Regions from separate parts of the Homo sapiens genome. Here region 2 is linked to region 1. Evidence: promoter capture Hi-C in 16 types of primary human blood cells and fetal thymus (Javierre and others, 2016). All regions are on one chromosome and are shown on one strand. The core of a region is centred on a gene start or on the middle of the fragment in contact, and the rest is flanking DNA. Distances in the headings are between cores, read along the strand shown.

Region 1 (3,964 bases), core at 876-3,375:
TAACATGGCTTATCTTACTCAGTTTTCACAATAAAAGGGTTATGAGATGGGAACTATTATTACTATCTTGATTTTTACAAATGAGAAAACAGGAGTAGACATTAAGGAATTTACTCAAGATCACAGCCAACCAATGCACTGAGCTGGACAAGGTCAACTTGGGGGTGAAGGGCATATGTGTTGCTCCAAGTGTGTCAGTATAAGAGAGATTAGGGTGAGGTTTTATGCAGAGTTTGGGCTTCAGCTGAGTAATTCTAAGGAGGGATTAGGGGAAGGAAGGCAGTTTAGTAATTGAGTATCTCAGAAACTTTAATTTGGAGGAGAACGGAACAAAGGTAGGCCAAGGAAGCTATTCAATCACTCAAAAGATAGAGGTTATTAGTCATTTTACAGCTGTAATGCATCCTTGTGAGGAACATTTTTTGCTTGGCCTTGTCCCTGGCCTTGTATGTGTACATTACAGTCTGATTATTAGTTGGGATGATTTTTAGTTTCTCAATCCCTACTCTCATTGCCCCAGTTTAATTCCTCAACACCTCTCACCTAGATTATTGTGATACTCTAGTTTTATCTTTTAAATCCTTTATATTGCAAAGCAGAGTGATTTACCTAAAACACAAACACAACCACAATAAGCCTCTATTTAAAAAGCTTTCAACGGTTCACTGTTGTCTCTACAGAATGTAAACAGAGCGTCTTAACATGGCACACCAGGCCCTCCTTAACCTAGCCCTCCCAGCCCATCACAACAACTATATTCCTTGATATTCTCGAATTGCACTTTATTTTGTTTTGTTTTTTTGAGACGGAGCCTTGCTCTGTTGCCCAGGCTGGAGGGCAGTGGTGCCATCTCGGCTCACTGCGGCCGCCACCTCCTGGGTTCAAGCAGTTCTCCTGTTTCAGCCTCCAGAGTAGCTGGGACTACAGGCATGTGCCACCACACCCGGCTAATTTTGTATTTTTAGTAGAGACGGGGTTTCACCATGTTGGCCAGGCTGACGAACTCCTGACCTCAGGTGATCCACCCGCCTAGGCCTCCCAAAGTGCTGGGATTACAGGCGTGAGCCGCTGCACCCAGCCTCGAACTGCACTTTAAATTGGATAGCTGGGCGGGCGTGGTGGCTCGCGCCTGTATTCCCAGCTACTCGGGAGGCTGAGGTGGAAGGATTGCTTGACCCCAGGAGGTCGAAGCTGCAGCGAGTCGTGATTGCGCCACTGCACTCCAACCTGGGTGAAAGACAAGACCCTGTCTCTAATATATAAGAAATGAATAAATAAATAAATTCGATTGCCAAAATTCTTGCTGTTCCCAGCATATTCCACTTTCACCTTTCAGCGCCTTTGCTTATGCTGATCTGACTGTAACTGCATTCCCACCCTTCTCCTTCTGGGTAAAGGGCATCTTCTTTCCAAACTCAACTCTTAGCATCAGAAAGCTGTCCCTGATACTGCAGTTGAGTCGCATGTGATACTGAAAAAAAAAGAAAAAAGGAAAAAAAAGAGAGCTCTCCCTGAATCCCTTGGTGGACTATGTTAGGTAAACTTCATCTTTGCCTGCATCATATTATGTATTGGTTCTTCTCTGCCCCCTCGATTGTAAACTCCTCAGGGGCAGAGGTAACAGCTTTGCAGCCCTGGGAGTTAGGTTTGCTTAAGGGACCAGAACAGGTGTGACTGGCAGGGAGCGAAGTCTGGAGCTTTGTCTGAGGCGCTGATAGGTGGATCGGCGGAAGGACGCGGAACCTGGACAGGTCGGAAATAAAGCCGGGCGAGCAGCTCTGTGCGCGATGTGACTTCATGAGTGGATGCTGAGAAAAGCGGCAGAGTACGACTTTAACCGCCTAGCCACAACACGTCCTGCTAGGGCGAGGAGGGAGACAGTGATACAGCACTGGGCAAGTGCTGAAGCGACAATTACTTCTAGGGCGGGGTAAAAGCCCCAGAGTATTTTTGCTGGAAGGAGGTATTTATTTGAGCAGGGTTCTGGAAGACGAGCCGCCGAAGGGTACCTCCGGCTTTCCGTTTCAAGTCCCACGCTGGTGGAGGTTGCTCGGTACCCGCGCCTGCGCGTGCCCGTCTCGACTCTTAGGCCCGCCCTTTCCTGCCAGACCTGGAGGGGCGGGGCGGTGCCGGCAAGATGGCTGCGCCCGAGAAGATGACGTTTCCCGAGAAACCAAGGTAAGCGCCGTACGGGGAGATGAGCAGGCGAGCGGGCCGATCGTGGGCATGGAGGATGTGGTGGCAGGAAGAAAAGAGAAGCTGGGCCAAGCTAAGTGAGCCACCGCGGCAGCTCCATTCCTTCCTGGTGCGCGCTCTGGTGCCCTCCCCGGACTTGCACGGGCGGCTGTGGCTCAGGCAAGCGAGGAGAGGATCAGGTTGGCGGATGGAGAAGAACTGTCTGGGAGTGGGAGGATGAGGCGATGATAGATGGCTGTTCTGTAATTAAAATACAGGAAGCAAGGTTTCTCTCCTCAGCACCCGAACTATTTCCTTTCATTGGGCACAGAGGAGCGGGGAGCTCGGGCAGCGCTGCATTGTAGCCGCTGATCGTCGTGTATATGTCTTAATCTTCCAGCCACAAAAAGTACAGGGCCGCCCTGAAGAAGGAGAAACGAAAGAAACGTCGGCAGGAACTTGCTCGACTGAGAGACTCAGGTGATGGACTCTTTATTCTGTTTTCTGTGTTGTGAAATTGCTCTGTCCACTCCAGCCCTAACTTGAAGCCCCAGTGTCAGAAGGAAGTCAAATATTGTGTCGGAGGAAAAATAGCTGTGACTTCTGCCCCCAAGTAGTTATTTAGAAACACATGTCAGAAACAATGTTAACATACTAAAGGCAGGAAGAGGAAGTCTTGGTGAATGATCGCCCACTGATTCTGTGTAACTTATAAAGTATCTAATATTACAGTTGCAAGCTTCATGAATTACAGCAGCTAGCACAGTCCTTGCACACGTAGTAAGTATTCGGTGAATGTTTTTCTTCGTAAAACCAGCAGGAGTTGAAGGTATTAATTAGACGTTTTGCAAGTTTTTCTCAAACTTGACTAATATGAGACCCTTGGTTTACCCAAATTATTATGTTATTCAAATATATATCAACATAATACTAGTTATGAAGCTCATTTATTTATTTTTGAGACAGGGTCTTGTTCTGTTGCCCAGGAGGGATGTGCACAACCACGGCTCACAGCAGCCTCCACCTCCCAGGCTCAAGCAGTCCTCCCACCTCAGCCTCCCTAGTAGCTGGGACTACAGGCATTCACCACCACACCTGGCTAATTTTTTCTTTTCTTTTCTTTTTTTTTTTTTTTTTTTTTGAGACGGAGTCTCGCTCTGTTGCCCAGGCTGGAGTGCAGTGGCACGATCTTGGCTCACTGCAGCCTCCGCCCCCTGGGTTCAAGCAGTTCTCCTGCTGCAGCCTCCCGAGTAGCTGGGATTACAGGCGTGCGCAACCACACCCGGCTAATTTTTGTATTTTTAGTAGAGATGGGGTGAAACCCCATCATGTTGGCCAGGCTGGTTTCGAACTTCTGACCTCAGGTGATCCACCCACCTCAGCCTCCCAAAGTGCTGGGATTAAAGGCGTGAGCTACCGCCCCTGGCCCACCTGGCTAATTTTTAAAATTTTCGTAGAGACGGGATTTCACTGTGTTGCCTGGGCTGGTCTCGAACTCCTGGCCTCAAGCAATCCTTCCACCTCGGCCTCCCAAAGTGCTGGGATTATAGGCATGAGCCACCACACCTGACCTGAAGCCATTGTTTGACTATAAAACAATATATGGGCTGGGCGCGTGGTGGCTCATGCCTGAAATCCCAGCACTTTGGAAAGCCGAGGCAGATGGATCACCTGAGGTCAGGGGTTCGAGACCTGCCTGGCCAACATGATGAAACCCTGCCTCTACTAAAAATACAAGATTAGCTGGGCTTGGTGGCAGGTGCCTGTAATCCCAGCTACTCAGGAGGCT
Region 2 (3,964 bases), core at 983-3,482, 880 kb after region 1:
AGAGGGATTTTAGGCAGGTGGACATCTCAGGTATAGGGAACCTCAGGCTGTATCTGAAAAACTAGTTTAGATTGTCCAAACGTAAAACTCAAAGCATGTAGCCTGGGCAACATAGTGAGACCTTGTCTCTACAAAAAAAATCAAAAAATGAGGTGGGAAGATTGTTTGACCCCGGGAGGTCTAGGCTTCCGTGAGCCGTGATCATGCCACTGCATTCCAGCCTGTGTGACAGAGTGAGAACTTGCCTCAAAAAAACACAAAAAAGAAAAAAACTCAAAGCCTGGGAGGAATCAGGATGCCATGGGATGAATCAGCAAAGCAGCAGGTGACAGAGCACAGTGGCTTTGGGACCCAGCCCAGAATCCTGGACTGAATATTTTAAGGGAAAAGAAACTGATGGAAGATGAGGACTGGCAGCAGAATCACTGTCGCTTTTGTTTTAGAAAGACAGATGACCACCAGTGTGGAAAATAGGCAGACTGGTGATGAGTCTGGAGACAGGACAGCTCATTTATTTATAGTAGATGTTATAAATTGTTGTCACAGCCGATTTAATCCTTTCCTAAACATTAAGCTTGAAAGCTGCGACAAAGAGAAATCAGTCCAGGATTGTGACTGTCTTTAAGGCATAGCTGAGAAGATGGACTATCAAGAACAAAGGAATTTAATATAAGAATAATGTAATTTAAAATGTTCTGGTGCTGTAAAGAAAAAATAATAATAGACCCCCCCCCGCCTTTTTTTTTTTTTGAGAAGGAGTCTCACTCTGTCACTGAGGCTGGAGTGCGGTGGCATGATCTTGGCTCACTGCAACCTCCACCTCCCGGGTTCCAGCAATTCTCCTGCCTCAGCCTCCCGAGTAGCTGATATTACACGCATCTGCCACCACAGCCAGCTAATTTTTGTATTTTTAGTAGAGACAGGGGTTTCACCATGTTGACCAGGCTACTCTTGAACTCCTAACCTCAAGTGATCCGCCCGCCTTGACCTCCCAAAGTGCTGGGATTACAGGGGTGAGCCATGGCGCCCAGCCAATAGCCCCTTATGAATTTAGGCAAGAGCCAGGACCCAAGTGACAATGACTGGACCCAGAAAGATAAACAAGCCACTTACCAGAGGAACTGGGGCATTTGGCCTAAACTCTGTGGAATCAGCATCTGAAGATTAAGAAAAGAGTTCAGTAATTCACCAATAGTGCTGAAAAATATTTGAAGAGAGAAAATTTTTTAAATAAATGGTCATTAGCAAACCTCGAACTTACCTTTCAAGTTAAGGCAGTTTCTTGCAAACTCTATCACTGCTAGTTGCATCCCAAGACAAACTCCTATTTTAAAAAGCACATATGCAAAGCAAATGAACTCACTTTGTATTTGTTCACATTTTCTGTTCATTTGTTGGCTGCCTGTCTCCCCTATCTAGAATGCAGACTCCCAGAGAGCAAGACTCTGCCTGTTTTGCTCCCTGCTGTCCTCTCAGAAGAATCCCTGACAGAGAGCAGGGCAGGGGCTTAGACTATCATGAAGCCGCCTAAGTCCCAAAGTTGACAAAGAAGGAACATGAGGTCAGAAAAGTGCAGGGTCAACTGGGCGCAATGGCTCAAGCCTGCAATCTCAGCACTTTGGAAAGCCAAAGTGAGCAGATTACTTGAGGTCAGGAGTTCGAGACCAGCCTGGCCAACATGGTGAAACCAGCCTCTACTAAAAATACAAAAATTAGCCAGGTGTGGTGGCATGCACCTATAGTCCCAGCTACTTGGGAGGCTGAGGCAGGAGAATTACTTGAGCCCGGGAGGCAGAGGTTGCAGTGAGCTGAGATCACACCACTGTGCTCCAGGCTGGGTGAGAAAGAAGGAAGGAAAGAAAGAGAAGAAAGAGAGAAAGAGAGGAAGGAGGAGCTGGGTGCGGTGGCTCACACTTGTAATCCCAGCGCTTTGGGAGGCTGAGTTGGGCGGATCACGAGGTCAGGAGATCGAGACCATCCTGGCTAACATGGTGAAACCCCATCTCTACTAAAAAAAAAAAAATACAAAAAAAAATTAGCCAGGCATGGTGGTGGGTGCCTGTAGTCCCAGCTACTCGGGAGGCTGAGGCAGGGGAGTGGCGTGAACCTGGGAGGCAGAGCTTACAGTGAGCAGAGATCGCGCCACTGCACTCCAGCCTGGGCGACAGAGCGAGACTCTGTCTCAAAAAAAAAGAAAATAAAAAGAGAGAGAGGAAGGAGGGAAGGAAGGAAGAAGGGAAGAAGGAAGGATGGAAGGAAGGAAGGAAGGAAGAAGGAAGAAAGAAGGAAGGAAGGAGAAGGAAAAGGAAGGGGAGGGAAGGGAGGGAAGGGAGAAAGAGAGAAAGAAAGAAAGAAGGAAGGAAGGAAGGAAAGGAAGGAAGGAAGGAAGGAAGGAAGGAAGGAAGGAAGGAAGGAAAGAAGGAAAGAAAGAGGCAGAGTCCATGAGACAAATCTGCCACCTTCTAGATTTGTCCCTGAGTTGAGGCATCTTAGTGGGCTGCAGTGCCTGATTCCTTCAGAGAACATCTAACACCCCAACTCAGAGGGAGTTTCCTGGGCTAAGATTTCCCACTCCTTCTCATGGTGACTTCACAGCCATAAACACAGGCTTGGCCAGAGGTTGAGTGCCTACAGGACGTCAGGCTGCTAACCCACAGGCAGCCCCATAGCCTTCACTGTAAGGAAAAGCAGCAGTGGGGGGTGGGGGTTGGAGACTCCACAGTGGGCTTGAGCATGGTGGGCAGCAGGGAAGGAGACACGATGGGCCTGAACAGAGTGCTCGGTGATGAAGGAAGGCAGACCTGTGTCGCCCAAGCCTGTTGCCACAGGGATGCTCCCAGACCCAGCTCCGCCTTCACTGCAGTTCACCAATTCTCTCCACTAAACAAATGCCAAAGAGCATCCCAGATGCTCCTCCGATAGATACTTAAGATGTACACAGGGGAAACAAAGAAGGGAGCAATCAATATATCAGGGATGCCAGAACAGAAGTCAATAAGCAGGAAACAGCTGAGTGCTGGGGGGTGGGGGTGGCGGTGAGGGGGATTTCAGAAAGTTCCATATGGCTGGGACATAAAGAGATGCTATGCTAGAGGGAAAGCTAAAGACCTGCAAACCATTCCATACTATTAAAATAATCTGAGGAACATTACCCACATTTAGACAGAAACTTCAAAAAAAAAAACAATGGCCCCCAACGAGCTTAGACCAGTAAAAGAAAACAAGGTATCCAGGTAACTACTCCAGTCTTCTATTTTGAAAATGGATCCTAAGAGGAGAGAGTCTAAGAAGCTAATCAAAGAGCAGGTAATGGGGGGAAATAAATGGTCTGCTGGCACTAAAAGCCTGTCCAATGGGCTCATAAACCCACCCAGCCATCCACTGCACAGTGGGAAACACAGCCTCTCTGCACTCCCCCTCCTGCCTGAGTCCCCAGCTACAGGGCTGCCTCTCCCGCATCAAGGTCCCATTTCCTCTGGTTTCCCTGGTACAGAAGCCGTACTTCGCAATTTGAAAAAAAAGCATTAAAAAGGCTCAACTCGGCCGGGCACGGGGGCTCAAGCCTGTAATCCCCACACTTTGGGAGTCTGAAGTGGGCAGATTGCTTGAGCCCAGGAGTTTGAGGCCAGGCTGGGCAACATAGCAAGACTCCATCTCTTAAAAAAAAAAAAACACACACACACACAAAAATTAGCCAGGCACAGTGGTGTGTACCTGTAGTCCCAGCTACTCTGGAGACTGAGGTGGGAATTGGAGAAGGTAAGCACAGTTGCAGATGGAGCCTTCTCCCAGCCTCTGCTACCCAGCTGGAATAGCAGCAAGTTCTCCTAGGATGAGAAACGTTTTCTGTAAAGGGTCACATAGTAAAGATTCTAGCCTCTTTCAGATAGTAAAGCTTCTAGGCCGTAGGGTCTGAAACTCTGACGTTGGACCACAAAAGCAGCCATAGACAATATGTAAACAA

The links. Contacts are between HindIII fragments. The CHiCAGO score rates a contact against its expected background, and 5 or more counts as called.
Region 2: a fragment that was not itself captured here is called in contact with the fragment with the promoter of ZRSR2 in region 1 in 5 of 17 cell types (non-activated CD4 T cells, total CD4 T cells, naive CD4 T cells and 2 more); the score reaches 9.3 in non-activated CD4 T cells.

The regions. Positions count from the first base shown.
Region 1 is chrX:15,788,359-15,792,322 of GRCh38, forward strand. It overlaps ZRSR2 (zinc finger CCCH-type, RNA binding motif and serine/arginine rich 2), which reads left to right and starts at 2,126. Exons shown (of 11, transcript NM_005089.4): 1 at 2,126-2,178; 2 at 2,576-2,655. The coding sequence starts at 2,138. CA5B (carbonic anhydrase 5B) reads left to right here. Exons shown (of 8, transcript NM_007220.4): 8 at 1-53. CA5BP1-CA5B (CA5BP1-CA5B readthrough) reads left to right here. Exons shown (of 12, transcript NR_160544.1): 12 at 1-53. RefSeq lists enhancers at 2,004-2,453, 3,112-3,613. The HindIII fragment of the contact is 2,263 bases long and covers 650-2,912 here.
Region 2 is chrX:16,666,401-16,670,364 of GRCh38, forward strand. CTPS2 (CTP synthase 2) reads right to left here. Exons shown (of 19, transcript NM_175859.3): 12 at 1,262-1,324; 13 at 1,114-1,157. Among named protein-coding and RNA genes, the nearest start is that of S100G, 18 kb to the left of the region's middle. The HindIII fragment of the contact is 3,321 bases long and covers 573-3,893 here.